Regions from separate parts of the Homo sapiens genome. Here region 1 is linked to region 2. The links are contacts of gene promoters, found by promoter capture Hi-C in human tissues and cell types (Jung and others, 2019). All regions are on one chromosome and are shown on one strand. Each heading gives the region's core, a stretch centred on a gene start or on the middle of the fragment in contact. The rest is flanking DNA. Distances are from core to core; before and after follow the strand shown.

The links. Contacts are between HindIII fragments. The study calls those that stand out against the background at their distance.
Region 1: a fragment that was not itself captured here is called in contact with the fragment with the promoter of ZNF90 in region 2 in 2 of the 25 tissues and cell types used here (H1 embryonic stem cells and thymus).

The regions. Positions count from the first base shown.
Region 1 is chr19:20,375,097-20,379,469 of GRCh38, reverse strand. No RefSeq gene overlaps it. Among named protein-coding and RNA genes, the nearest start is that of MIR1270, 22 kb to the left of the region's middle. The HindIII fragment of the contact is 5,069 bases long and covers 1-4,373 here.
Region 2 is chr19:20,075,133-20,079,435 of GRCh38, reverse strand. ZNF90 (zinc finger protein 90) reads right to left here and starts at 1,436. Exons shown (of 4, transcript NM_007138.2): 1 at 1,301-1,436. The coding sequence starts at 1,303. RefSeq lists an enhancer at 1,014-1,493. The HindIII fragment of the contact is 4,387 bases long and covers 442-4,303 here.

The DNA.
Region 1 (4,373 bases), core at 825-3,324, 300 kb before region 2:
GCTGGTGGGAGTGTAAATAGTTTAACAACTGTAAAAAGCAGTGTGTTGATTCCTCACAGAACTAAAAGCAGAATTATCATTTGACCCAGGGATCTCATCATTGGGTATATACCCAAAGAAATATAAATTATTATATTATAAAGACACATCCACATGTATGTTCACTGCAGCACTATTCACACTAGCAAAGATAAGGACAGGCCCTAAATGCCTATCGATGGTAGACTGAATAAAGAAAATATGGTAATATGGTATGGTCATATGCGGTGGCTTATGCCTGTAATCCCAGCACTTTGGGAGGCGGAGGCAAGTGAATTGCCTGAGCTTAGAAGTTTGAGACCAGCCTGGGAAACATGGCAAAATCCTGTCTCCACGGAAAGTGCAAAAAGAAAAATTGGCCAGGCTTGGTAATGCCTGTGTGTAGTCCTAGCTTCTTGGGAGGATGAGGTAGGAGAGAATTGCTTGAGCCTGGGAAGTTGAGGCTAAAGTAAGCCAATATCATGCCTTGGCACTCTAGCCTGGGCAATAAGCTTGTCTCCAAAAATAAAATAAAAAATTTAGTAAAAACAAAAATTTACTAAACAAAATTTAGTAAAAACGAAACATCATGGAATACTGGGTGGCCACACACACACACAAAAAATGACCATGTCCTTTGCAATAACATTGATGAAGGTGGAGACCAACATTCTTAGAAAACTAACGCAGAGGCCAGGCGATGGCTCAGGCCCATAATCCCAGCACTTCAAGAGGTCGATTTGGGCGGATCACCTGAGGTCAGGAGTTTGAGATTAGCCCGACCGACATAGAGAAACTGTGTCTCTACTAAAAATACAAAATTAGCTAGGAGTGGTGGCGCCCTCCTGTAATTTCAGCTACTCAGGAGGCTGAGGCAGGAGAATTGTTGGAACCCAGGAAACGAAGTTTGCAGTGAGTCGAGATCATACCATTGCACTCCAGCTTAAACAACAAGATCAAAACTCCTTCTCAAAAAAACAAAACAAAACAAAAAAAAGAAAACTAATGCAGAAACAGAAAGCCAAATGCATGTTATTATTTATAAGTAAGAGCTAAATAATAAGAACACATGAACACAAAGAGGAGAACAGGCCAGACACAGTGGCTCATGTCTGTAATCCCAGCACTTTGGGAGGCCAAGGCGGGCAGATCACAAGGTCAAGAGATAGAGACCATCCTGGCTAACGCAGTGAAATCCTGTCTGTATTAAAAATACAAAAAATTAGCCAGGCATGGTGGAGGGCGCCTGTAGTCCCAGCTACTCAGGAGGCTGAGGCAGCAGGATAATGGTGTGAACCCAGGAGGCAGAGCTTGCAGTGAGCTGAAATGGCACCACTGCACTCCAGCCTGGGAAAGAGTACGAGACTCGGTCTCAAAAATAAAAATAAAAAAAAGAGAGAGAGAGAAACAGACACTGAGGCCTAGTTGAGGGTGGAGTATGGGACGACTCAGAGGATCAGAAAACATACCTGTTTGGTGCTACAGGTAGTAACTCAGGGACAAAATAATCTGCACACCAAACCCCATGACATAGCTGTGTAACAAACCCACATGTGTACCCCAAACCAAAAATAAGAGCTAAAAGAAAAAAAATTCCTGGGTCGGGGAGATTGCAATGTAGGTAAGTGGACTGATTTTCGCTACAGATAGTGGCCCAGTGGGGCTGTACTCTGATTTATTTCTGTGTGAATGCAGGCAGACGAGATTGTGAAAAGCAGGTCCAGAACCCTAGGTTGGTGGAGAAAACAGGTTGCTGCTGCAGATTCGGTGTCCAGGGAGGGGGATATGCCAGATTTGTAGAGACTTGTGGGTTCTTGGCAAGAAACTCTTGGATCAAAAATGCCGTGGTGAAGTTCCTGAGGGTGGTGCCTAGTCCTGGGAGGAGTGTGGACATGTCAATGTCTAGTGTGTGTGTTTGTGAGTGGGTGGGAATCCTGTGGTAACAGCTGCAAGAAAAGGGGGTCTGTCATCAGCGCTCCTTTCCTCTAAGTTTTCAGTCCCATTCCCAAACACCCAGAATTTTATTCCAGGCCAGGGCTCCATGATATCTTTTTTCTGGCACCAAATCTGTAGTTTGCTGAACATCAAATAATTCTCCAACACCAACTCATTGTCTAACATTTGAAATCTGACACCACCCAGAGTCAGCACAGACCCTGATTCAGGGCTCAGTTCCACAACATTGTCCTCACTGCAGATGCCAGTCACAAACCCCATGGGCCCATCTATGCTTCTGAGCTGCTGCTTAAAAACTGGGGACTCCCATAACCTCCCTGAAGTTGAATAATTGGGTAGAGCTACTCACAGAACTCAGCAAAACACTGTAGTTACGTTTACCGGTTTCATATATATAAAATGCAGCCCAGGAAAAGCCAAATGGAAGAAATGCATAGAACAAAGAAAAGAGATGGGGAAAGATGAAACACAAAATCATAAAAAATATTTGCGATTAATAAAATTCTACATCCTTTGTGTGCTCCAGTAACAGTTTGTGGAAAGAAACACTCTTCCCATTACGACTTAGATAATGCTCTCTTTTCTTACTTATCACAATGCCAGATACACACTCTGCATATTTTCTCCTTATTCTCATTAAAACAATCAGCTGAGTTTGTCTTCAGTGGCCAAAATAAATTATTATTATTTTTGAGATGGAGTCTCACTCTGTCGCCCAGGCTGCAGTGCAGTGGTGCCATCTCTGCAGTGCAGTGGTGCCATCTCGGCTCACTGCAATCTCCGCCTCTCAGGTTCAAGCAGTTCTCCCACCTCAGCCTCCTGAGAATCTGGGATTGCAGGCACCCACCATGACCACCAGCTAATTTTTGTATTTTTAGTAGACACAGTGTTTCACCTTGTTGACCAGACTGGTCTCAAACTCCTGACCCCACCTTATTCAATATTTTGATTATCTTCTTTGCAGCCCCTCTTACTAATGTTCCCAGCAGGCTACTATCCTGCTTCCTGAACATTTCTACTCAAAAGTGTACTGAGAATGCCCCTCCAGGTCACAAATTGGTGGAATGTCATCAGTTAAGGCAGGAACTGGCTGTTTTCACTTCTTTTGTGATTCTTCACTTGCTTCAGGCCATCTGGATGTATATGTGTGGGACACAGGGGATATGACGGCTTAGCTTGGGCTCAGAGGCCTAATAGTCTTGAACTCCTGACCTCAAGTGATCAACCTGCATTGGCCTCCCAGACTGCTGGGATTACAGGCATGAGCCACAGTACCTGGCTAAGTTGCTTGCATTTTACACCTCCATAAGAAAAGCAAATATATCTACTTTTTTCAGACAATATATGTATTATTTTATTATTTCTATTAAAAATTATGCAGTAAAAGATTAGTCACATGGGAACACGTGTAGAAGGTACTGTTATAAAGTTTCGGTGCGGCTAAAGAAATAGCACTCAAATATAACATTTTCTTTTTAATTCTCAGCAAGCCGAGGTACTTCTATAGAAGGGTGCACCCTTACAGATGGAGCAATGGTGAGCGCATACCCGGACAAGGGAGGTAAAGGGGTTCTTATCTTTGATGCACGTGGACCCTGCTGCTGTGTCTTTCCCCTATTGGCTAGGGTTAGACCAGACAGGCTAAACTCATTCCGATTGGCTAATTTAAAGAGAGTGACGGGGTAAGTGGTTTGGTAGGAAAAAGTGGTTATGCCGGGTGGAGAATGAGTCAGAGCAGAGCAGGTAGCAGGTAATGGGAATGAGTCAGGGTGGAGCAGGTAATTGAAAAAGGTTGCTTTATGAGGAAGTTAAGCTTAAAAGTAGAAGGCAAAGAATTGAACATACTGACATATTGATTCTTTGAGAAGAAATTTAGAAGTCATATCTAACAACCCCTCCTCTTGCATTTCCTTACAGCCCTTTCTTTTCAAATTTTTTTTAACATGTCTTGGCTTAGTTGTTCTGCTTGATTTTCCAAAAGAAGCTTCTATGGATAAGGTGGTGGATAATTAAGGGAGGTTTTAGTAAGTGCTGTTTTTATAAGCCTCTGCACCAACTCACGGAGTCATGGTGTGACACAGCACCTGACAAGATGAAGTATACCCATTACGTCTGCAAGGGAAGTAAGAATTTAGGCTATTATTTTTTTCCATTTACTGAACCACTTTTCTAGCCATCTTGTAAAGGGGTCATTTACACTTGAATTGTTGGCTAACTCATTGGACAGAGCAGTCAGACCTTGCAATGCCTTTGTTGTATTTCCATCAGGGGCAGTGTTGTCTGGGATGAAGGTACAACATTGAGTTTTAATCATGATGCAAACTCCTTCTCTGTATGTTAATATTATGTCTAAGGCTATTCTATTTTTCCCAAGCCGTCTGGCTAATAGGCCCTAATTG
Region 2 (4,303 bases), core at 187-2,686:
TATTTTACAAAGTCAAACAAGTGCCTCAAAACAATAACATCATTATCAGTAAGACCCATCCAGTTTCCTTTCATCTTAATCTTAACTGCATCTGCCTGGACAAACTCCATCTCAAAAAAAAAAAAAAAACCCTCCTTTTGCAGGCTTAATATTAGCCTTAGCTCGGAATCACTAGGTTCAAGCTTTAATTTCCATGCCAGAGTTATTCACTGGGTTTTTGAAACTAAGTGTTGGAAAATACAGTGAAGTTACTAAAACACAGTGTTTACATAAAGGATGGAAATTTTAAGATGCTTACTTTTTTTTTTTTTTTTTTTTTTGAGGACTCTCCCTCTGTCGCGCATGCTGGAGCGCGATGGAGGGATCTCAGCTCACTGCAACCTCTGCCTCCCGAGTTCAAGCAATTCTCGGGCCTCAGCCTCCCAAGTTGCTGGGATTACAGGCGCTTGGCACCACTCCAGGCTAATTTTTGTATTTTTAGTAGAGAGAGGTTTCACCACGTTGGATAGGCTGGTCTAGAAATTTGACCACGTGATCCGCCCGCCTCGGCGCCCCAAAGTGCTGAAATTACAGGCAGGAGCCACCGCGCCTGGCCGGGAAGGGGTTATTAGCCCTAATGCAGTTCTGTTTTTGTTTTCCCTCCATTGGCTGGGGTCAGACCGCACAATCTAAGCTGATCCCGGTTGGCTTACACTCAAGCTTTTTCCAAATCGGGTAATGCGCGATTTGTGAGAAAAGGAGAAGGGAGAAGAAGGGGTAGGGGTGATTTACAACTTTTCCAACTTATGACCAGGAAGTTGCGTCTTTGAAGAAGAACTACGTTGTACTAACAACCCTTTACCTCAAGTGATCCGCTCGCCTCGACCTCCCAAAATGCTGGGATTACAGGCATGAACCACAGCGACCGGCCCCATAAGTTTTTAATAGGAGAAAAGAGAAACTGTCAACCCCATGGACCAAAGCTCTTCCCATTCATGAACCTGCACCCCGAGTCAGGATTCTCCCCCGAGAACCCTCCCGTGCTCCCTGCACAATCTGGGAGAGACGCAGCGCTGTGGGTGCAGAGCTGCCCAGAGAGGGCTCCAGGCCAGGGCAGGGAAGAGACAGGACGCCGCGGGGCCCGGCTGTCGGCGCTGTTGCCATCTTATGGCTGAAGGGGACTGAGGCCGAACTGGGCAAGGAGAAGTCGGTCGCAGATTGTGGAGCTGACTGCGGGGAGGCCTAAGTCCCGCCACAGCCACTTCCCATCGGTTCCAACCAGTCCCTCCCCTCTCTCGGAATGCTGGAAAGGCACTCTCACCATTTCTAGGCTTCCGGGGGTCCCTCAGCTGTGGATCTCCCAATACCTGCAGGTCACAGGGCCACAGAGGCTGGAGAAGAAGACACGAAGCAGCTAAGACCAGATTTGGAGCACCAGCTGCAGCAAGAGACAAATGGCCGCGCCAAACCCGAAAGCCTTCCTCTTCGCTCCAGCTGCCTGCATGATTGGACGGTTTCCAACCCAGCGTCCCTGATTGGATAATGCTTAAGGCCCCGCCTCCTCAGTCCCTGAGTGACAGAAGATGTGATCACATGCTGGGCTGAGTGAAGAAAGAGTCACAGCCTCAGCTGCAGCCTTTTCAGGCCGGGCTTCCTCCTTGAGCTGAGCCAGGCCCACCGGAGAGCATGGGAAAATTCTTTTTTACTCTTTCTCTTTTTGAATGTATTCAAAAGGTGAACAGAAGTATTTGGCTGTCATATTAATAATACAAAAAATTTTTGTTCAAGAGAAAACTTTTACTTTGGTAATAGTGTATTATCAATACGAAAGCTAATTTTAATAAAACCTTGTAAGTAAATCAAATTTGTCATTTTTGACCTCTCGAGACTTACATATACATCATATATATTTTGTAATCTAATGTAATTTTTTTAACTTTTTATATTTTATTTTTATCTACATTCTTTTTATTTTTTCAATTTGAAACAACTTTTAAGTAATTTCAAACTGTTATAGGAGACAGAAAGGAAATCATTTAGGGCCAGGCGCGGTGGCTCACGCCTGTAATTCCAGCACTTTGGGAAGCCAAAGAGGGCGAATCACTTGAGGTCAGGAGTTCAAGACCACCCTGGCCAACACGGTGAAACCCCATTTCTACTAAAAATACAAAACCTTACCTGGGCGTGCTGGTGCACACCTGTAGTCCCAGCTACACCGAAGGCTGAGGCAGGAGAATCTCTTGAACCTAGGAGGTGGAGGTTGTGTAACCGCCCAAGGAGTTTACCTTGCCCTTTGCCCAGACAAAACCAATTCATCAAGACAGGGGAATTTGTGGAGGAAAAGTTAAATATTTAATTTGAACTCAATTGAACGTGGACACAAACAATGGTCACCAAGTCCTGGAAGAGGTTGTGTGAGCCCCTTGAGGCGTTCATCCAGTGCTATTTTAGAGAAATCTCTATGTCAATCTATTCAATCTATTCCTATACATTCGTTATTGAAAAACAATAGACAAGGCCGGGCGCGGTGGCTCACGCCTGTAATCTCAGCACTTTGGGAGGCTGAGGCGGGCGGGTCACGAGGTCAGGAGATCAAGACCATGCTGGCTAACACGCTGAAACCCCGTCTCTACTAGAAATACAAAAAATTAGCCAGGCCTGGTGGCAGGCGCCTGTAGTCCCAGCTAGTCGGGAAGCTGAGGCAGGAGAATGGTGTGAACCTGGGAGGCGGAACTTGGAGTGAGCCGAGATCGCGCCACTGCACTCCAGCCTGGGCGACAGAGCGAGACTCCGTCTCAAAAAAAAAAAAAAAAAAGAAAGAAAGAAAAAGAAAAACAATAGACAATCACAAAAACAAGTTGACCTTTCTGTGTTCCTTGAGACCAGTCATGAAGGGCCCTGGTGACTAGGCCTCATGCTGAACAACTCGTTACAAAAAGAGCTAGGTTCCCAGACCGCGCAGAAGCGTCATTATACCTCTCCTGGTCTGTGCACCGATGGGTGGCCAACTCTGGAGCCCATCCTGTTGCTTTCCGGTCTGGTGGTGAATCCTCCATAGTCTGGTGTGGAGTCAAAGTTAAATAATAAATTTGTGCTAATTGAACGTGGACACAAACAATGGTCACCAAGTCCGGGAACAGGTTGTGTGAGCCCCTAGAGGCGTTCATCCAGCGCTGTTTCAGAGAAATCTGTATTTCAATCTATTCCTATACATTCGTTCTTGAAAAACAACAGACAATCCCAAAAACAAGTGACCTTTTTGTGTTTCTTCAGCTCAGTCGCGAAGGGTCCTCATGACTAAGCCTCGTGCCAAACAACTCATTACAAAAGAGCTAGGGTCCCAGACTGCGCCAAAGCTTCGTGACAGCTCTCCTCACCTGTGCACAATTGTTAGCTTGCTATTGGACTTTACTGGAAACAAAACACCTCTGCTTTAACCATGATGTCTTTATGAGGCCTAAATTTCCTGTTATGATTTAGGTCACGAGTTCCCTCAAAATCCACAGGAGGCCAAGATGTGTGGATCACGAGGTCAGAAGTTTGAGACCAGGCTGGCCAACATGATGAAACCCCATCTCTACTAAAAATACAAAAACTAGCCAGGTGTGGTGGCATGCATCTATAATCCCAGCTACTCAGGGGGCTGAGGCAGGAGAATCACTGGAATCCCAGGAGGCAGAGGTTGCAATGAGCTGAGGTCTCACCACTGCACTCCAGCCTATGTGACAGACTGAGACTCCATCTCAAAAACAAACAACCGAAAAACATAACCATTTCTGATGAAGAAAGGGGTGGGAGCAGCCAGTTAACTGAACTAGTAGACATCCTCTGAGCTCTTCGAAAGGAAGGAAGAAGGATTTGTCACTTGTATACCAACTCTTGCTCAGTAGCAAATGGTCTTACTACCTGGATGCCCCAATGACAACAAAACAAATGGTTAATTGGGAATAAAGAGGTATGGGGAAAACAATACTGGGAAGATACATGAATTCTGGTACACACTACCATTATCATTGTTTTCCTGTATTAATTAATTTATTTTTTTTGACACGGAGTCTAGCTCTGTCACCAGGCTGGAGTACAGTGGCTCAGTCTCGGGTCACCAGGCTTGAGTGCAGTGGCTGAGTCTCAGCTCACTGCAACCTCTGCCTCCCAGGTTCAAGTGATTCTCCTGCCTCAGCCTCCCGAGTAGCTGGGATTACAGGCATGCACCGCCACGCCCAGCTAATTTTTGTACTTCTCTAGTAGAGGCGGGGTTTCACTGTGTTCACCAGGGTGGTCTCAATCTCCTGACCTCGTGAACAACCCACCTCAGCCTCCCAAA